2 separate regions of the Homo sapiens genome follow, and region 2 is linked to region 1. The links are contacts of gene promoters, found by promoter capture Hi-C in human tissues and cell types (Jung and others, 2019). All regions are on one chromosome and are shown on one strand. Each heading gives the region's core, a stretch centred on a gene start or on the middle of the fragment in contact. The rest is flanking DNA. Distances are from core to core; before and after follow the strand shown.

The links. Contacts are between HindIII fragments. The study calls those that stand out against the background at their distance.
Region 2: a fragment that was not itself captured here is called in contact with the fragment with the promoter of CWC15 in region 1 in 1 of the 25 tissues and cell types used here (IMR-90 fibroblasts).

The regions. Positions count from the first base shown.
Region 1 is chr11:94,969,867-94,976,076 of GRCh38, reverse strand. CWC15 (CWC15 spliceosome associated protein) reads left to right here and starts at 2,521. Exons shown (of 7, transcript NM_016403.4): 1 at 2,521-2,579; 2 at 3,884-4,022; 3 at 4,590-4,702; 4 at 5,012-5,100; 5 at 5,981-6,088. The coding sequence starts at 3,892. It overlaps KDM4D (lysine demethylase 4D), which reads right to left and starts at 2,368. Exons shown (of 3, transcript NM_018039.3): 1 at 2,009-2,368; 2 at 329-423. RefSeq lists enhancers at 2,115-2,264, 2,585-2,754, 2,469-3,244. The HindIII fragment of the contact is 10,665 bases long and covers 1-6,210 here.
Region 2 is chr11:94,662,647-94,668,880 of GRCh38, reverse strand. All of the region lies in intron 4 of PIWIL4-AS1 (PIWIL4 antisense RNA 1), which reads left to right. Among named protein-coding and RNA genes, the nearest start is that of LINC02700, 28 kb to the right of the region's middle. The HindIII fragment of the contact is 6,066 bases long and covers 1-4,779 here.

The sequences.
Region 1 (6,210 bases), core at 1,272-3,771:
AAACCATTTAAGTCAAAAGCTTTAGTTTCATTTTCTTATTAGCACTTTCATTTAAGTCAAAAGCTTTTAATTTTGTGGATTGACTATATTGTATATTGGTGTTAATGAAATTATAGGGTGGCTATTTATCACCACTGGCAACCAAAAGATTAGGTTAGTGGGCTGGGAGTTAAATCAATGAAGTGATTCACTCCAGGCTAATGAGGACAGTTGGAACATAAAAACTGTGGGTATCTCCTATAATTGTGTTACCATCTTGCCATTGTTACGTCATTCCTCTACTTCATAGTGCATCATTCATTCATTCATTCATTCAACAAATACTTACTCAGCACCTATTATGTGCCAGGCACTGTTCTATATGCAGAGGATACACCCAGTGAACAAGAGAGACAAGGTTCCTGCTTTCCTGGAACTTATGTTCTAATATAGGAAGATAGACAATAATAATAAAAATAATATTAATAATAATAATAATAGCTAACATTTATTTAGCAAGTACTATTTGCTGAGACAGTTCTAAGCACTTTACAAGTATTAATTCACTTAATCCTTAGAGTAGTATTACAAGTTAGGGACTAGAATTACGCCCATTTTACACGTGAGGAAACTGAAAGCACAGAAAGGGAAAATGACTTGCCTAAGGTTATAGAGCTAGGAAAGGGCAGAACTGGAATTTAGAACAAAAATGGGCAGGCTGAAGATCCTTTTCTCTTAATGACCTTCGCATGCTGTCTCCTGAGAGACATGGAAATAAAAAATGAATAGAATAGACTCTGGTAATGTTTAGTGGTATGAAAAATGAAACAGGGTGATGTGATGGTGTACAAACACAAGTGTTGGAGGGGTGGGGGTAGGAAAACCTCACTGTGATACCTGAGACATGAAGGATGGTGATACAGTTACTTTGGGGCACAGGCAACAGAGAAAAGCTAGTGCAAAGGCCCTAAAATAGAAGGAATCTTGCCCTGTTTTATAAAACAGAAATGCCCACTTGGCTGTGTCTAGAGCTTAGTGCGTAAGCGAGTGACTGATTGGAAGTGAAGTCTGGAAGGTAGGCAGGAACCAGACTCCGTGGGGTCTCAGGTCACATTAAGAAATGTGATTTTTATTCTAAGTGCAGTGAAATTGTACACAGGATAGTAACACCATTTTATTAATTTTAAAAGATCACTCTCTTGGCTATATGCAACACTGACTGTAGGATAAAAGATGACGCAGGAAGATATAATAGGAAGCAATTACAATCCAGGTAGGAGATGGTGTTGGCAAAGGCAAGGGTAGTGGCAGTAGAATAAAATTGCGGGTGAGTTTTAAAAGTAGAATTGTTAAGACCTGTAAATGAACCGTATGTGAAGAGTGAATGAAAAGGAATTTAAGTAGGCACTCCGGGATTTTGGTTTGAGTAACTAGCATGATGATCGCGTCTTTTAGTGAGACTTGTTAAGACTGGAGGAGGGATACCTTCGGTAAGAAAAATCAGGATTTTCATCTTGAACTCTATGACTGAAAGGGCTTTTTCTGCTTTTCTTTCTTCATTAAAAAGTTGCAAAGAATTTAGGGGTAAGAAAGCATTTAAATATTCAATTTTGTGAGTTCCTTACATTTTAAACTAAGTTGGGGAAGTTGAATTTTCATTTGTTTAACAAATATTAATTGAGCAGCTACTATACGTCAAGGTCTATGTGATGAGATACCAAGATGAGCTAAACAACCAAGATCTCTATTCTCAGAATTTGTTTTTATGGAAGGGAGGAGAGACGACTGGTAGGTTTTTGGTTTTCGGGTTTTCTACTTTTCGTTGTCTTATTAAAACTTAACACTTAAGTAGCCATCTTAATAATTACATCTTGTGCTCCTGGTAGTTGGGCCCACCATTGTAAACGCTCTCGTAAATACTGACATCTCCCCTCCCACTAAAACTAACGTTTTTTAAATAAGAAATTTTAGCAAACATTACGAATACAACCTTTGCTTTGAAGTGTTAATATTTTTGCAGGAATGGTACCTTTGTAAAGATCGTGGTTGCCCCGTACATATTTGTTCTTTCTTCATATCCAATTAAATGAAAACACTAGTTTTTCCGAAGCCCAACTCTCTAGGTTTGTTGGTTCTAGCTCAGGAGAAAGGATGGAAGCAGGAGTCGTTGGATTTAAACAGTTTGGTGTAATCCTTTTCCACGCTCTCTCCCGCTAGCCGGGGACGTGGTGTCGGCTACCCGGGGCTTTCCGTCCACGCAGTACCGGAATGAAGGAGTCTGGGAGGGGGTCGGGGACGGAAAAGACGGAAGAGACATTAAGTAATTGGTTCTTGAAGGTATAAAATGAGGTTTAGGGTCTACTCTAAGGCACTGATTTCAAACGCCCGCCCCCTGGGCCGCTTCGGCCCCGCCCCTTAGTGCCGTTACGCCGACTTCCACTTCGGCCACTGCGGATTGGTCGTTGCTTCCGCCCCCGAAGCGCTTGGATTTTGCTTCCGGGTCGTAGGCGCTAGCTCTGGGCGCAGAGGTTTCTGGGAGCCAAGAGTGGTAATGGCGTCTGTATGATCTTCGGAGCCTGCTGCATCGGACCTCGGCCAGTGTGAGCGGCAAGAGGATAGGAGATTATCTTTCTTATCGCGATGGGACGGGAAAGGGCAGTTGGGGTCGGAGTCGGCGGCAGAGTGCAGAGCGCGGGCGGTGGAGGCCCTGGAGCAGCGGGCTAGGGGCGGAACCGAGTGCCTGTCAGGCGCGTCTGGAGCTCTTGGGCCCGCCGAGGAGATCGCAGCGTACAGGCAGCTCGCCTACTGCGTAAAGCGAACCCCAGGTCCTCCCTTCACTACCCTTCGCACCCCTGCAGTGCTGGGCACGGGTGAAGAGGCAGCGAGTTTCTGGTTATAGCCAAAGACTAGCTCACGGGAGGCCGGAGTGATAATTCCGTGGGTGTGTGGGAAGGGGCGGCGCCCCCAGCGCCAGATAACCCTGTTTTCTTCTTTGTATACATGTCTCTACCCTTTTTGAAAGTTGAGAGAATTAGCATCGCCCCCCCCCCAAAAAATCCTCCCAATTCGCCCACCCTCCCCACACACTTGCTTTTCCGACACTAACAGGGTTTTAGTGACTGCATCTGCTGCACAGTATTCTTGTGACTGCTCCAAGCAGAAAGTAACTTGAGGAATGAGTCCCTGATTTTTGGCATCAGAATCCTCTGGGGGTGAGGTTCCTGTTTTTTTTGAACAGGCCTTAAATTATAACCCACAAACGATCTAATTTATAGTATGATGCCTGTTGTAGGAGAAAATTGGCTCAACAAACGGTTGTTTAAGAATTTTTTTCTGTGTAACTGTCATTGAAGTTTAACACACTTTTCTCTGGGACATTTAGTAACTTTGTCAGTGATATTTTTTGTTTGTTTTTAGCTTTTGTTTCTACTAGCCTATTTGCTATTGTGTGAAGTTTAGATAAAATGCAAACCTTACAGAGTCTGGTAGAGTAAGGTTGAGTTGGAAATTTTTAAAACTCAGTCATGGCAGTACTGTATTTTACTAGGGTTTTGACATGTCAAGTGTCATAATTCTTATAATCTATGAGGAATATCTCCATTCCACAGATGACAAAGTTAAGCCAGGTGACTTGCTCAAGCCCATATAGTCAGAAGGAGAATAGGGATGCAAACTCAGATCTTCATGACAGAATTTTTTGTACTAAGGCAAGCCTGAGAAGCCATATTCCTTGTACAGCCTAAGCCTCATAATTTGTTTTCTTGAAAACTTTTGTTTAAGAAGATTAAGCAGGTTTTGGGGAATGAGTTTTAGAACTTATTTTACCAGTATGGATATTGATTAATACTCTATAAAATGAGTGTTTGTAATGTTGGAAATAACTTGATTATATTTTTCTTCAAAGCATAAAAGATGACAACAGCAGCCAGGCCAACCTTTGAACCTGCCAGAGGTGGAAGGGGAAAAGGAGAAGGTGATTTGAGCCAACTTTCAAAGCAGTATTCAAGCAGAGACCTACCCTCTCATACAAAGATAAAATACAGGTAGTAAGACTTTCTTTTTTTATTGTTCACAAAACAAGACCAGATCTGTTAAATGGCATGGTCATGATATAGTAGTATGTTTGAGTTATGTCACTTATCTATTTTCATAGGAATAGAATGCAATAGGATGTTTAACACTAAAATTCTGCTGTGATTTTAAAATGTGAAATTCCTACTAACCAGGAATTTTCATATGTAGATAGAACAATAAATAATAGAAATAATAATGCCTCAGAGTATGCACTATGAGCACCAGTCAGTATATTAAAAGTATTACTGTTAAGTTCTGAGTTGATATAATCCTAATAAAAATTAAAGACATTTTAATCACTGTAAAGCCTTATTATAGGAAAATATGTGATTGAATTTGGACTTCTTGAAATATTGGGAACATCACAAGAGTGGCTGTTAGTAACCTTCAGATTAAATTATGATCTTGTCTACTTCCCTTTTTTCTGCTTGAAGGACAAAGTCTCATTCCTGAATTGTCTTCCATTACTACAGTCTCTGTGTGTGTGTGTGTGTGTGTTTAAGTAACATTTTTGCCCTGGTTTGTTTCTACTTTAGACAGACTACTCAGGATGCCCCTGAAGAGGTTCGTAACCGTGACTTCAGGAGAGAGTTGGAAGAAAGAGAGAGAGCTGCTGCAAGAGAGAAAAATAGGGATCGTCCAACCCGAGGTACCAACACTATCCAAGACATTTGTCTCATAAAATTATGTTGTTGATAGTTTTTCTTTATGTAGCAATTGGAAAATGTTAACCATTTGTTTACTTTTACAGATTGATGTGAGCTGTACTACTTTCTTAGGTCATTAGAGATAATAACAACAAATATTTACCAAAGGCTTATTTGCCCAGGCACTGTGGATGTGAGTTCACTGTGGATAATGCTTTTAATGTGGGCTCCTTGTGCTCACAGGTCCCTAAAACATTTTAAGAAATGAAGTATTTGTTTTACTAAGTTAAATGATTTTTGTTTCCCCCCAGAACATACAACCTCCTCTTCAGTGTCAAAAAAGCCACGGTTAGACCAGATTCCTGCCGCCAACCTTGATGCAGATGACCCTCTAACAGATGTATGTTTTGTTTCCTCCTTTCATCTCTAATAATTGATTTACCATGCTATTCTAAAATACTTGTTATGTCTTTGCTTTAAGAAGTGACATATATTTATGTTTAGTTACTGTTATTCAAATATAGCCCTGACCTCAGTGCTAAACTTTATAGTTGATTTTAAAATCAAAAGTATTATTTTGTGGGACTTTAAGAACAAGTTTGATCTCTAGAGAACCAAATATGGAAGGAATCTATAAAAGGATATGCTTTCCCCCAAAATAATGTCCTGTACTAAACTACTGCACTACTGCTGTGTTACACACCTCTCCAGGGCACTCTTCATACTGGGCTTCCTATAAACAGTGCCCTCTAGAGTTGTACCTGGAGGCCTTTCCATATTAGATATGTCCCCTTCTATAAGTGCAATACACTTAATGGTTCCCTCTGTGCTTAGGGAGGGAAGTAATCTAAGCAGAAGGTTTTTAAGGATTAGCACATCAGTTAATGTTAAAATTCTGTGGGACCCTAGAGCCTATAATCAATTTGCAGTTTTCTACATACAGGACAGTGAAAAACCTGAGTGGCATCCAATGAGTAATATCTAACTATGTATACATATCAGCAGTTAATTCTAGAGTTAATTGATGGAGTTACTCATAATAGTTAAAACAGGAAACCTAATTTCAACTGAAATTTAATGATTATTCATTTGAAATTATTTTCTTCTGAGAATTTAGCACACTTTTTTGCACTTTTGAGTATCTTTGCTGCTAGCTTAAAGTTGTTTTGAGCTACATAAAATTGTTTTGACTTTCTTAGGGTGATACGTTGTACATATGTACTGTGTTTTGGTAGTGTGTATTTTCCCTCCAATCTTCTGGGCTCTCACTGTTCTTTTAGGAGGAAGATGAAGATTTTGAAGAAGAAAGTGATGATGATGATACTGCAGCTCTTCTTGCAGAACTGGAAAAAATTAAAAAAGAAAGAGCTGAAGAGCAGGCCAGGAAGGTAAAACCAAAGTATTAAATATTTACATCTATCTTCTCACATACACTAAGGTAGAAATTTTTTTGAATATAAGTAATATCTTCTTATATTAGAAATCTCCTTTACCGTGTCTAAATATTATA
Region 2 (6,234 bases), core at 497-2,996, 310 kb after region 1:
CCCTGAGTGGGTTAGTGGCTCTCCCAGGTCACACAGTTGATTTGCAAGGTAGAGTATAGAGTTTAATGTTACAATGAGACAGCTCAGCTGGCCCCCTGGGTGGGAGCTGGGCTTTATTTCATTCTTGAATCACATCATCAGTTTCAGTCTCTGTCTCATCACAGGTGCCATCAGCCTCCCAGCATTGCCAGGCTTGAGTTCCCACCCCAGACCCTGAAGTCTGCTGGGGGGAAATGACTGGGCCAGTTATGTATTTCCAAACATACAACTCCCAAGGTGGGAGGAGGGAGAGGAGGCAACCAGGGTTGCTTTTGTGGATTATGCAGTTACTGACCTAAATTTCATGTTGCCAGGGGGCTGGGGGCCGGGGGGCGAGAAGAACTGCCACAGGTAACACTGACATGTTGGAGAAAGTGCTGAGGAGATGAAATGCTGACTAGGGTCTTTGAAAATGTTGTCTGTTTTAATTGGATGTGTCTCTTCAGAACCCACTGGTGGCAGGCCCATCACAGGCTCCTTTTAATCAGTGGAATCCACATTTCCCCACTACAGCTTTGCACAGAAGAGAGAGCAAGGGGGCAGAGGCCAGGGGGAAGATGTGGTTCTAATTGGAAATATGGTAATTTGGGAAGAGGATTCTATTTCAAATAGAATTGCCAGGTTTCTTCTGCTTTATGCCTTACTGAGTAGATTTTTCGAAGGAGAAAGAAACTGTTCATCTTTTGGAGCAAGGGCCTGGGGTGATATTCTGACCCATTTTATTCTCTTCTTCTACAATGTACATATGTATATGCTGTCCTTTTCCAAGGTTTCCAGTAGCAGAGTTCACTGTTCCCCCGTGCAAGGGGCAGTACAGAGAGGAGACAGACAGGTACATCCAGCAAGGGCAGGAAAGGAAGGGCCAAGCACGAGTGGGAGAAGCCAAAAGACTGGGATCTCATACCAGGGGTCAGGATAGAGAATCTCTGACCAGGGTGAGGCTGGGATTGACCCTCATGTTCATTCTTCACTCAACAAACATTGGTGGGCAGAGCTACTCACTGTTAGGACCTGGAACTCTCCCATTATAAGTCGTAAGGGCCCCCACGCTACATGCCAAGCTCATCTTGGGACAAATCCAAACACTTGGGGAGGTCTTAGGACTAACAGAGGTATCTGAAGCGTGTGGAGACCCCAACCACAGAGTACCATCAAAACCCTGTGGCCCACCCAACACCATAGGCAGGCTCTCAGTTAGGTCCACTGACCTAGTCTGCACAAGCTGCTATAACAGAATACCATAGACTGGGTGCTTTGTAAACAACAGAATTTTGTTTTTTTCAGTTCTGGGGTCAGGAAGTCTAAGATCAAGGCACTGGCTGATTTAGTGTCTGGAGAGGGCCTGCTTCCTGGTTCATAGACGGCTGCCTTCTGGCTGTGTCCCAACACTGTAGAAGGGGAAGGATGCCCTCTGGGGCCTCCTGGATATTTATCCTGTTCATGGGGTATCACCTCCCAAAAGCTCCACCCCCTAATACCATCACTCGGAGGGGTTAGAATTTCAACATATACATTTTGGAGGGATATAAACATTCAATCTATAGCACCCACATCCTCAGGACAGCCTCAGAATCAATCAAGATTGAGAGATAGGTAGGAAGAAGTAAAAAGGGAGAGCGCTTTGGGTTGGTTTGTTACATAACAGTGGATCACCAAAACAGATGGCAAGCCAATAGAATAAGAGTCAGCAAATTTTTCTGTAAAGGGCTAGGTATATTTTGGGTTCTGCAGGTCAAATGGTCTCTGTGGCAATGACTCAATTTGCCATTATAGTCAAAAGCAGCCACAGACCATACTTAAACAAATGAGCATGGCTGTGTTGCAATAAAACTTTATTTATGAAAACACGTGGCAGGCCAGATTCAGTGCACCAATTGTAGTTTTCCTGCCTGCAATGGAGGGTTTGAAGCAGCAGAGTGATATGCTCTCGTTTAGACCCAGAGAGCTCTTTCTGACAGCCATGTGGAGGACGGACTAAAGGAAGTAAGAGCTGAGGTGAGGCTGTTGTCAGGTGAGAGATGATGATGGCTCAGCCTAGAGTTTTACTAGTAGAAGTGGAATGATTTAATTGTAAATCTATGTTGGAGGTGGCACTGACAAGATTACCAAGACAGCTAAGCAAATAGCCAATTGATGATTGCTTTGAGGGAAGTATGCAAAAGGAAGCTATGGGAACTTAGAGAAGGGGTACCCAGATTATGGGGATTATGACAGGCTCCCTGGAGGAGGCAACTGCTGAATAGGAAATAACCAGGGGAAACACCTGGAAGGATAATCTTTCAGGAAAGCAGAGTAGTAGCAGCTCATAATGGCTAAGGTTGGAGGAGTCCAGAGTGTCAAAAATAAGAGGTAACAGATGGTAATGACTCTGGAGGGCGGGCAGATGTCAGATCTTGAAAGTTCAAGAGGCCATTCCCTGCAAGATTAAAGATGGAGCAGCCAGCTAAGAGTCACCAGTCCTTTTCCAGGCCTTCTTCCCAACCATTCTTTCCAAGACTGCCCTAGGACATCTTCCCACTGTGAGTTTTGAAACTTTCCTCCTACAAAGGGAGCTCAGATGCGTTATCAGGAGCCCTGGCTGCCACACTTGATAGGTATGGGCCATATCGCAGGTCCTGCTGACCCTGAGTTTCCTCATCAGTAAAGTGGCGGTAGTAACAATCTCACAGAGTCGTTGGGAAGATCAAATGTGTATGAAAATGCTTTGCAAATGCCACAGAAATGCTAGGGTTTGTTAAGGTGACAATGTTGATTATTAAAACAGCATCCTGTGTCTCCTACAAGTTTATTTTGTTGTTTTCTCATTTTACGTCCTCACAATTCTCTCCTGATGATTTTTCTGAGTTATGAGAAGAGCTCTTTGTTCCTTGCTCCAAAGTTCTATGGGGATATGGTCACCCCGCCCCACCGCTGGGAAGAAAGCTGTTTTGGCTTTATTCACTTCCCCCAGGATGCCCAGGAACTAGCGTGGATGTTTCCCAAGCAGTTTTCAACTTGGCCTTGAAGCCATTGCTGCAGGCTGGCCGGCCCAAGGAGCAATCCTCCACTACTCCTCCCCACCACCAGCAGAGTCTTCCTCATCCTGCACTAGCAATTCCTCTCAAAGAAAGTGCTTTTCCAAGAGACAGGTAAATGGCCTTGAAGTGCTTACCCTTCATCTCTCTCCCTCTTGTTCTGTTTCTCTCCTGGCATTTCAGAGAGCTTTTCAGAAGGCCTGTGTGCATGTGGCATTTCAGTTCCGTGGCTCAGTGCACAGTGTGGTTTGACAGCTTACCTGAGGCAATTTAACCCTCCATGTTGCTCCATAACCTGCAGGTGTTCCAGGCTCAGCCCAGAGACACAGTCCTCAGCTCAGTGCAGACCCTCATCCCTGAGTCCATGGCACTACACAGCTCCTGCGAAGCTGTTCATGTAGACTTTAATGTGAGTGATGCCTCTCAGGGTTGACAATGCACAACCTGTGCAGCTGTCCATGACAGCACTGCTCACTGTTTCTTAACCATGTGTTTTTATGGTTACTATCAGAGCTCAGAATCTGACCTGTTGAACTGACCAAGCCTTTAGAGCCTGGTAATTCAACAGCCTTAATAGAGCAAGCACAGGCTTTGCATCAGCCTGACCTACGTGCTAATCCCGGAACCAGGCTAAGAAACCTAGGCAATTTCTTTTTGCTTGTGTGGAAATAATACTTACTATATGGGGTTGTTGTGAGGACAAAATTTCAAACATGGAGCTTATGTTACAAATAAAGAGAGTGAAGCCACTGAGGTTGAGGGCTGGCTTGAACATAGTGTTCTGACACCAAGTGGCATGTGATAGGTACTCAATAAATGCTTGATCAATTGAGGAAGCACATCAATAACAGGCCCTCGGGTGGTGATTCTGTGGGAATTTTATTTTACTTGTGTAATTGTGAATGTTTTCCAAATTCCCCACCATGAGTGTGAATTACTTTTATAATCAGAAGTTCAATAAGCATTATTAAATAAATGCAAGCAAAAAAGCAAGAGACACTAGTAACAGGCAGAGATGAATCTGACAGTATGAATTACTTATGAATTAGGAAACTGGAAGTGATTTGGAATCCTCCTTTGTTGCACTTTGGAACAAGTTCCTATTAGTTTCCCTCCACATGGCTATTTCTTGCCCCAAAGGAGTCCACAGTCTAGAGGAGGAAAGCCTGAAAAATCAATCTGTGTGATAAAGGGAGTCATTGTGAAAGCTACAGGGACAGAGGAAAGGCTGCCACCTGGCCTGGAAGGCTAGGGGCTGGTAGGTTAGAAAAGGCCCCACAGAGGCATGGACAATTAAGCCAAGCTGTGACTCATGACCAGGAGTTATCCTAGTGAAGGAGGGGCAGGTTACTGTGGGGTCAGCATGGCACATGCAGTGGCAGGGAGCTTGGCTGTTTGAACTGGACAAGTCATTAACCTCTCTTGGCCTCAACATTCTCTTCTGTAAAATGAAAGGGTTGGACCAGTTCTCTGGTTCTCAATCCTGATTACAAGTTACAATGATCTGGGGCATTTAAAAAAAAAAAACACCAAAGCCCAAGCCCCACCTTGTATCAATCAAATCAGAAGCACTAGGGGTGGGATCTAGGTGTTGGTATTTTTAAAGGGCTCCATGTGGTTATAACGTACAGCCAGAATTGTGGACCACTGGACTAGAAGTTTGCTAAGTTGCTTTCTGACTGTTCCTCTGACAGCATGTTTTGAGGTTGAGATAAACATCTTTAACTTTTTCACTAATGCAAATTTATCATTATAAAATAATGCTAAATTATTTAAATTATTTATTATAAAATAAACCAAAAGTAAATTGATTTCTTTAAGCCATTTACAATTAATGTGAGAGTGGTAGAAGAAAACAACAATGACAAAAGGATTAGAAGAGCAAGACAGAAATCTTGTTTCTATATGGAAGTTAACTGCTAGTCAGTTATTATATGAAAAGAAGATGGAAACCTGCTCACTCAGGAACATTCACCCCAAACTGCTCACTTCAAGGTTACATAGGTCTTCCACCAGGACCAGGGACTCGGCAGTTCATTGATCAAATGTAGAGACATAAGCCATAGTCTCCATCACAGTAACCAGGCCTGCCTCAAATGTGCACATGGATAGCTAACTGGTTATGTTAGTTTACTAGGGCTGCTGTAACAAAGTCCCACAAACTGAGTGGTTAAACACAGAATTTGTTCTCTCTTGCTTCTGGAGGCAGAAGTCTAGAATCAAGGTCTAAAAGCAAATCTAAAAGCAAGGCTGTGCTCTCTAGAATGGCTCTAGCAGAGGATCAGTTCCGTGCTTTCTCTTAGCTTCCAGTGTAGCCAGCGAGGCTTGGCATCCCTTGGCTTGTGGACACTTCACTCCCATCTCTGCCTCTGTCACCACATGGTGTTTCCCCCATGTGTCTTCACATTGTCTTCCTTCTGTGTATATCGGAGTTTGTGTCTCTTCTCTTCTTATAAGGACGCCAGTCATATTTGATTAGGACCCACCCTAATGACCTCATCTTAACTTAATTACATCTGCAAAGATCTTATTTCCAATATGGTCACGCTTACAGGTACTGAGGGTTAGGTCTCAACATATCTTTTTGGAGGGCATACCTCAATTCATAACTCTGGCCTACTTAAGCAATTTGGTGAAGGCCTTGGGCAGTTCAGAAAATCATCAAAGGAATTGTTGACCTGAAATACCTGATCTTTGAATTGACCAATGAAGCAAGATGATGAACTGACTAGGCACATTTTCAGTTTTCATAGCTGATAGGGTGATTATTTTTATTTATTTACTTTTTAAAAGTTCTCTTAAAAATTATTTCAATAGCTTTGGGGGTACAAGTGGTTTTTTGCAAGAGTGATTAAAGAACAAGAATGCAACAATGATAACAGAAATCTGACCCAGCTTGGTATGTGAAAAATCCAGACTTCCAAGGTGGAAAAATTATAGGAGGATTATTTCCCATATTTACATATTTACTCCCATTATTACAGAGGAGTGCTTTGATTTATGAAAATGTTTTTCTGCTTAGTCATAGACCAATATTTAGACATCACTTTATACTTTATACATCATTTTCATATATATCCAGATAATCTTCTCAATAACCCTATGAGTTAGATACCATGAACCCGTTTTACGGAAGGGGTGAGGAGGCTCCTTAGAAATGGGAGAACTGGGGCTCTGCACA